Linked DNA regions of Homo sapiens: all the other regions are linked to region 1. The links are contacts of gene promoters, found by promoter capture Hi-C in blood cells and fetal thymus (Javierre and others, 2016). All regions are on one chromosome and are shown on one strand. Each heading gives the region's core, a stretch centred on a gene start or on the middle of the fragment in contact. The rest is flanking DNA. Distances are from core to core; before and after follow the strand shown. Region 1 holds the start of DPF3 (double PHD fingers 3). Region 2 overlaps DPF3 (double PHD fingers 3). Region 3 overlaps DPF3 (double PHD fingers 3).

Evidence for each region. The method cuts DNA at HindIII sites, captures the fragments that hold promoters and counts their contacts. A CHiCAGO score of 5 or more calls a contact.
Region 2: a fragment that was not itself captured here is called in contact with the fragment with the promoter of DPF3 in region 1 in 1 of 17 cell types (endothelial precursors); the score reaches 9.2 in endothelial precursors.
Region 3: a fragment that was not itself captured here is called in contact with the fragment with the promoter of DPF3 in region 1 in 1 of 17 cell types (endothelial precursors); the score reaches 7.9 in endothelial precursors.

Annotation. Positions count from the first base shown.
Region 1 is chr14:72,892,745-72,895,646 of GRCh38, forward strand. DPF3 (double PHD fingers 3) reads right to left here and starts at 1,357. Exons shown (of 11, transcript NM_001280542.3): 1 at 1,313-1,357. The coding sequence starts at 1,344. RefSeq lists an enhancer at 1,317-1,611. The HindIII fragment of the contact is 4,463 bases long and covers 1-2,902 here.
Region 2 is chr14:72,682,439-72,685,340 of GRCh38, forward strand. The region is part of intron 7 of DPF3 (double PHD fingers 3); the gene reads right to left. Among named protein-coding and RNA genes, the nearest start is that of MIR7843, 170 kb to the left of the region's middle. The HindIII fragment of the contact is 1,052 bases long and covers 1,012-2,063 here.
Region 3 is chr14:72,760,137-72,763,038 of GRCh38, forward strand. The region is part of intron 2 of DPF3 (double PHD fingers 3); the gene reads right to left. Among named protein-coding and RNA genes, the nearest start is that of DPF3, 130 kb to the right of the region's middle. The HindIII fragment of the contact is 922 bases long and covers 927-1,848 here.

The DNA.
Region 1 (2,902 bases), core at 107-2,606:
CTTCGCCTGCGGCTTCGTCCGGGCGGGGAAGTCCCGGTCGAAGGGGTGAGGACCCCCCAGCCCACCTCGGATACGGAGGGAGCCACCCTCTGCCGACATCACCCAATAGCACCCCTTTCAGAGCGACACTAGTTTTCCGAGGCCACCCCTGGCTCCGCGATCGCGAGCGGACTTGGCGGCTTAACAGTTCCACTGACTGGAAGGAAGGAAGGAAGGAAGGAAGGAAGGAAGGAAGGAAGGAAGGAAGGAAGGAAGGAAGGAAGGAAGGAAGGAAGGAAGGATGAAAAGGAGGAGGAAGGCAGGCAGGCAGAAATTGGCTGTTGGACCCGGGGCTGGCCCCCGCGAGTCCTCGCCCGGCCCGCCCCACTCTGTCCAGGATCTGGGCAAGCGCTCAAAGTCTCCCCGAGGCGGCCAGAGGCACCTGCCCCTCGCCCGGCCGGGAGCAGACGCTGCCCCCTCGGGCCAGGAGCCCCAAAACCGCCTCTCCGCCTGCCTCAGCGCCTCACCCAGAGGTGGCGAGAACACCATTCATAAGACCTGCGGCTTCCCTGCCTCCAAATCCACCCCAAGTTAACCCGAGTCGTTAATCCACTAAAGCCAGCTCGCTCGCAAATACACGAGCAGACACACGCTCGATCGCCCGGAGCGCCTCCGAGATCCGGGGGCTGCCGGGGAAAGCCCGGGGCGACCACCTGGGCCCCAGCACGCCCGGGACCCGCTGCTTCCCCCGCGGTGCTCCAACTCCGGAAGGTTTGCACAAACTCCCCGCGAGCGATCGGAAGGCGAAGAGCGCCCTGCAAACTCCGGAGCCTCCGCGGTCCGTCCGCTGGACCCAGCGGACCCAGCGGCGGGGCGGGGGCCGCGGGCTCGGGGGCGCGGGGCTCGGCCAAGTACACCGAGGCGGCCACTGCCCGACGCTCGCCCCCCGCCCAGCAGCCCCCGAAGCCGCGCTCCCTGCCCGCGAGGCGGGGGACTCCGGGGACCGCGCCGTCCCCGAGCTCCCGCGACCCTCCTGCTGTAGAGCGCTCGAGCGCCGGGCTTCTCCGCCTGCAACCCCTATATCTGGCTCTCTCTGCAATTTAGCAGAACACAAATGTAACAATTTTCTTCTTGTTAATTGCATCTCCTGACATTTCTGCGCGTTGGGGGAAAAAAAGAAGATGAAGAAGTAAGAGCTGAAAGAAGAGAGAAGCCCCGCCGCGGCTGGAGGCGCCTGCAAGCGCAATGCTCTGGCAGCGCTCGCCACGCAGAAGGCGCCTTTTTTTTCATATTGAAACCACGCGGAATATGTACATTTTTTAGTCTTACTTACGCTTTCAGGGGGTTGTGAATGACAGTCGCCATTTTGCTACAATGTAACAGAATATTGTCTCAGAGTTCTAAAGGTTCGCTCAGGGGAAGCGACGGGCCAATCACAGCGCGGGATACCGGCCCGCCGGCCAATCGGCGCTGCTGGTAGCTAGGTGGGCGGGGCCTGCGCCGTGGTAGTTATTAGGAGAGCTGTCAAAGCCCAGAGGTCACTCCCTTTTGTAGAGCCCGAGAGCCAGCAGGTCTTAAAGGGGCAGTACAGCGCTGGTAGCTCCTTTTCGGGCTGGGGAAAGTGGAGACGCACGGGAGAGTATTATAGTTTGGTTTAACTCCCTACTTTTCTAAATAACTGCAGAAGAGTTTGCGCTCCCGGACAGAAATATTTAAATATTGCCAGCAAGCCACTGAATCCTATTCATTAGCCTTTGGCTTTGCGTATCAACATTTTTAATCCCCCAAAGGGTAAATCCCCGTGTTTCAGTGCAAAAGTTGGAAGGCTGCCGTTTCGTGTTAACAAATTACTACATGTGCTCTGCCGTTTGCTAATGCTCTGGGTCCTGCCGCTTTTTAATATTCTTATTCCCGAAGTGTTCTCTTTATCTCGGCCACCTTCCTCTCTCGCTTCTTGGAACTGTCGCTGCTGTTCCTGGCGACTCCAGGACAGCAACTCACCCTCCCCCTGGAACGTCTCAATGTCAGGCTCGCTCCCTCCTGCAGCCAGGGCTTTCCTTACGTAGTGCAGGGGGGTTACTCTGCGCGGTTCCCCGCTACCACCCCTTCGGTTCTTCCCTCTACACCAGAAACTTCCAAAATGCTCAGATTCCTGCTAGGTGGTGGGACCTGGAGCTCTGATCTTTAGGCTTAGGGGTAGGGAGGACTTAAGGCAACCTTTGGAAACTTTCTACTGCTAGGAAGCAAGTGACTAGGCAGAAGTTGTAGAGCCTGGACTGGGTGTTATCAGGGTCCCTTTAGAGGAGTGGCACACGCGATTCTGGCGTCACCTTTCACTACTTAGATAGAAGGTGGAAAGAATTTGCTAATGAATAATCCGATGTGACCCGAGGCGTCCAATGAGTCTGTGTCTGCTTCAAGTCAGTGTGAACTCTTCACTGGCGAGCCCCTGACAAAATTGGGAGACTTCTGCGAAGTCAGGCTTCCACTGGGCACCGGGAAGCTCTGGGGGGATGAAATCGCATTAAATCGCGAATAGGGTAGGGGCCTCGTTAGCATACAGAAGTCTGGCTACCATTCCAAAGCTGTTTAATCAGATCAAATAGCTAAGATAGTGGGGGAGGGGTGGCAAGGGGAGAGAAGTTGCCAAATTGCCAGTTCTTCAAAGCTATGCCCTCTCGCTTCCTTTTGCTCCTCTCAAGACAATGAATAAAATAAAATAAACATTCCAGAATTTTAAGAGTTCAACTACATACACTATTAGATTTACAGATAAACAGAACGTGGCTGAATCACTATGTTTTTAAAAGATTTGAAATCTTTAACTCCTCTCTGCGTATTTAAGAAGCAGAATTGAGTTCTATAGATTCCTTTGTAAATCCTTTGCATAGCATCTTGGCAGAGATTACAGTTTGAAAAAGTT
Region 2 (2,902 bases), core at 288-2,787, 210 kb before region 1:
AGTGATGTCACTCCCCTTAATGAATTCCAGACAGCTTGGTGTGTTAGAGCTGGATGAGTTTTGTCTGTTTAAGTTGTCGGGATATTATTATCGACATAATTAGGATTCAACAAGCCCCTTGTTTTGCTTTGCCCAGCCGTGCCCTCTCAACCCTCTTCACTAGCACCACTGAACTCTGTCTGCAAGGGGACCAGCATTTTCTTTGTTCTTCAGACAGAAAGCCGTATTTAAGAAAAGGGAAAGCATGAGCCTTCTGCTTTAGACCTGAGGATTTGGAAGGAATCAAGAGACCACAGAGTCTTGGGGCAGCACAGCCTGAGGATGGTGGCACACGCAGGGGCGCACTCCAAAAGCAGGCCGGGAAGTTGGTGCTGAGAGTCAGAGACGTCTGCCCTACATGGGATAGAGCATTAGGAAAAGAGCAAAAACCAAGGCTGCCCCTTCAATTTGACAGTACAACCTAACTCCTGGCCAGTTACCTGGCTCAGTGCATCCAAAAGAAAAAAGGAATTAAAAGGAAGTTGACTGACTGAACATCAGTCTTGGAAAGCTAGATTTCTGTAAGGTAGTGGTTTACCTGGGAACTTGTCAAAAATGCAAATTCCCAGTCAGGCACAGTGGCTCATGCCTGTAATCCCAGAATTTTGGGAGGCCAAGGCAGGTGGATCACTTGAGGTCGGGAGTTCGAGACCAGCCTGGCTAACATAGCAAAACCCCGCCTCTACTAAAAATACAAAAATTAGCTGGGTGTGGTGGTGCACACCTGTAATCCCAGCTACTCAGGAGGCTGAGGCAAGAGAATCACTTGAACCCAGGAGGTGGAGGTTGCAGTGAGCCGAGATCGCACCACTGCACTCCAGCCTGGGTGACAGAACAAGACCCCATCTCAAAAAAAAAAAAAAAAAAAGCAAATTCCAGGGCCTGAATTGCTGAATCAGAAACTCTGGGGGTGGGATCCAGTGGGTGGGCTGTGCTTTAACAAATGCTCCAGGTGATTCTGATGCAGCCTCAAGCTTGAGAAACATGGCTTTAATTGGTGTGACAGTCATGTCACCCGGAAGTCATTCACTTAATCTTCATCATAGCCTATGAGATAGATGCCATTAATGATCTGATGTTACATAGTGATCCATGAGGCATATGGAGGCTATGCAGCTCAGCTAAGGTCACACGTTAGTCAGTGGCTCACTTGGCTCTGAACCCAAGCAACCGCGCACCTGAGGGGAGGTGAGTCGGAGAGGTGGACACGCAGGGCCTCACAGGCTAGGGCTTCCCAGATTTTGCTGTGCAAATCATTTGGGGATCTCATTAACAATCAGGTTGGAATTCATAGATCCAGGGTACAGCCTGAGATTCTACATGTCTTAAAAGCTCCCCTGGTAGGGTGGCCACGCATCCAGGTTTGACTGGGACAGAGGGTTCTAGGGCGTGGGGCTTTCAGTGCTGTAGCTGGGCAAACCTGGACAAGCTGTCACCAAGCCCCAGGTGCTTCTGACCACACTGTCAGATGCAAAACACAGACCCACAAGATGAGGAGTTTGGGTTGTATTCAAACGTGATGAAAGTGTTGAGAGCATGAGAGTGACATCATCTGCTTTATATTTTACATATATATATATTTTCTTAGAAACAAGATCTCTCTCTGTCTCCCAGACTGGAGTGCAGTGGCACAATCATGGCTTACTGCAACCTCAACCTCCTGGCTTCAAGCAACCCTCCCACCTCAGCCTCCCGAGTAGCTGGGATTATAGGCATGCACCACCACACCTGGCTAATTTTTGTATTTTTAGTAGAGATGGGGCTTCACCATGTTGACCAGGCTGGACTCGAACTCCTGAGCTCAAGAAATCTGCTCAGCTCAGCCTCCCAAACTGCTGGGATTACAGGTATGAGCCACAGCCTGCTTTAGAGGCTGGGAGACCAATCAAAAAAGTTTTAACAACCCAGGCAGAAGCCAGGGGTGGCCAGAAGATAGAGAGAGGGAGAAAATGTAGGGTATATTTTGGAAGACTGAAGGAAAACCAAGAGGCAAGGATGAATCCTAATATTTCACTTCAGGCTCAAGCTTTTTTTTTTAAAAGAGCAAGTTTAGAAGAAAAAAAAAATGAGAGCCAGGAAAGACAGTGAGACACAGAATGAGAGAGAAAGACTCAGGAAAATTATTGAATAGAATGATGTGTGATTTTTTTTTCTGTAGGAAAAAAACTCATTTACCAATTAAAGTATGACCTAGAATTTGTAATGCAGGGGTGGGGTCTCTAAAACATCCCAAACAGCCTAAGTTAGTAAAGAGCTTTGAAGAGTAAATGTGCCTACTATGGACTGAAGTGTGTCCCTCATCCCCAAAATTCATATGTCAGAGTCCTAACCCCCAAAGGGATGTTATTTGGAAAAGGGTCTTTGGAAGGCAATTAGGTTCAGTGGGGTCATGAGGGTGGGGTCCTCGTAATGAAATTAGTGCCCTTATTAGACACCAAAGAGCTTGTTTCTCTCTCTCCACCCGTACACACCAAAGAAAGGCCATGTGAGGACACAATGAGAAAGCAGCTATCTGCAATCCAAGGAGAGAGCCCTCACCACACTCTGACCCTACCAGAACCTTGATCTTGGACTTCCAGTCTCCAGAATTGTGAGAAATAAATTCCGGTTGTTTAAGCCACCCAGTCGATGGAATTTTGTTAAGACAGTGCCTATTAACATGTTCATCTCTTTTGAAAAGCCACAATGCAGCATGATGCATTAGACAACTGGTCTTGAGGCAAAAGTTAAGGGACATCGGTAGGACCATGACAAAGATCCAAGCCTTGGGACTAGGGCCCATCACTCAGGGTTCCAAAGTCCTGACATAACTGAATGGTATCCAACTCAAGCCCATTCACATCTCAGCTTCCCACCTTGCTGT
Region 3 (2,902 bases), core at 138-2,637, 130 kb before region 1:
ATTATTTTAAACTCATTAAAAGATGATCAACTATTTTTAAAAATACAATGATGGCCGGGCGCGGTGGCTCATACCTGTAATCCCAACAATTTGGGAGGCCAAGGCAGGCACATCACCTGAGGTCGGGAGTTCGAGAACCGCCTGACCGACATGGAGAAACCCCATCTCGACTAAAAATACAAAAATTAGCCAGGCATGGTGGCGCATGCCTGTAATCCATCAACACATCTACTCTGACTCTGAACTCCTCCTGCCTTCCTTTTATAAGAACCCTTGTGATTACATTAGGCCCACCTGGATAATCCAAGATTATCGCACCATCTCAAAATCCTTAATCCTGTCTTCGAAGTCCCTTTTGCCATGTAAGGTAACATACGCACAGATTTCAGTAATTAAAATGTGGATGTCTGAGGTGAGGAGGGGCCTTATTCTATTAATCACAGTACTATTGTAGACTCCTTATACTATTCATGAAATAGAATAATATAATTTGAAAGTTAACTATAATTAAAGATGTACACTATAAACACTAAGCAATCACTAAAATAACAACAAAACAAGAGTTATAGTTAATAAACCAACAAAAAAGAGAGAAAACATAATCACATTAAATGTAAATTGCCTAAATACCCCTACTTAAAAAAGATTGTCAGATTACATGTAAAAAGCATAACACAACTATATGCTGCCTATTAAAAAACTACTTTTAATATAAAGATGCAAATAGGCAAGAAGTAAAAGAATGGAAAAAGATATTTCATGTTAATATTAATCAAAAGAGAGCTGGAGTGGCTATATTGGAATTAGACAAAGGAGATTTCAGATAAAATAATATTAATAGAGATTAAGAGGATTATTTTATAATGATAAAGGAATCAATTTATTGAGGATATAACAATACTAAATGTTTATACACCTAATAACAAAGCTTCAATATACATGAAACAAAAAGTAATAGAATTGTAAGGAGAAATAAGCAAACCCACAATTATAGTCATAAGTTTCAATACCCTACCTCTCAATGATTCATAGAATAAATAGAAAATAAGGATGTAGAAGATTTAAAAAACATTATCAACCAATTTGACCTAATTGATATTTATAGAACATTCCAAACAACAACAGCAAAACACAATTCTTTTCCTGAGCAAACAGAATATTTACCAAGGTAGACCACATTTGGTGCCATAAAACAAGTTGCAATAAATTTAAAAGAATTTGAACCATAAAAATTATTCTCTGACCATTTGGAATTAACATGGAAATAAATAATGGGCACAACTTTGGAAACGTCCCAAGTGTTTGGAAACTAAACAATACAGTTCTAAATAATCCATGAGTAAAAGAAGAAACCAAACAGAAAAATATTTTGAACTGAATGAAACTAAAAACCCTATATCAAATTTTTTAAATGAGGCTTACATAGTATTTATGGGGAAATTATATCAGAAAATGATGTAGTAGAAAAGAAATATCTTAAATCAATGACCTGTTTACACCTTAAGAAATAGATAAACCTACTATGTACCATAAAAATTAAAAAATTAAAAGAAATAAGAAACAGAAGAGCAAATTAAATCCAAAGTAAATAGAAGGAAATATAAAGATCAGAGCAGAAAAAACAATTCTACCAAAAGCTATTTATTTGAAAAGATCAATAAAATTGATAAACCTCTAGTCAGAATGATGAGGTAAAAAATAACATTCAAATTAACAATATAATGAGTAAAATAATATGCCACCACAGATTCTACATATATTAAAAGAGTAATGCAGCAATATTATGAACAACTTTGTGCAACCAATTAGGAGAATGTAGATAAAAGAAACAAAATCACATACTAACAAAGCTTACTCAAGATGAAATAGATAACCTAAATAGCCCTATATCTATAAAATAAATTAAATTTATAATTAAAAACATTACCTCAAGGAAACTGCCAGATCCAAATGGATTCACTGGTAAATGTTATAAAATATTTATGGAAGAAATAATACCAATTCTATATAAAGTTTCAGAAAAGTAAAAATGAAGAAATACTTCCCAACTCATTATATGAGACCAGCATCACCCTGACACCCAAACCAGACAGACATTACAAGAAAACTATAGACTAATATCTCTCATAAACATAGATGCAAAAACTCTAATAAAACTTGAGCAACATGAATCTAACAATACATTAAAAAGATAAAATAGCATAACAAAGTGGGGTTTATCCTAGGAATGTAATGTTGGTTTAACATTCAGAAATCAATCAATGTAACTCATTATGTTAAATGTAAACTTAAGATATTAAATTTAATCAACCATTCCTACATAATGAAGCTTCCATGAACAAAAGAAAAACCACATGATCATCTCAATAGACACAGAAAATCAGATGACAAAATCAAATATCCATTTGTGATTTAAAAAAAAAAACTCTCAAACTAGAAATAGAAGGGAGCATCCTCAATCTGATAAAGAATATCTACAAAAAATTCTACAGCTAATGTCATACTTAATAACAAAAAAATAAATAAATGCTTTCTCTTTAAGATCAGGAACAACATAAGGGTGTCCAGTCTCACCACTTTTACCTAATATTATGTTGGAGAGTCTAGCCAGTGCAAGAGACAAATAAAATAAATAAAAGTTATTCATATTAAAAGAAAGAAGTAAGTTTTCTTTATTTACTATTCAGGTTATCTACTAGCAAACTAACAGATAATCAACTATATAGAAAATGCTACAGAATCTATAGAAAGCTATTAGAACTAATGAGTTTAGCAAGGTTGCAGGATATAGGAAGAATATACTAAATTAATTGTTTTTCTATATATTAGCAAACATCAGAAATTAAAATGTATAAAAATTTATTTATAATAGTATCAAAAAGTATTAAGTGCTTAGAGACAA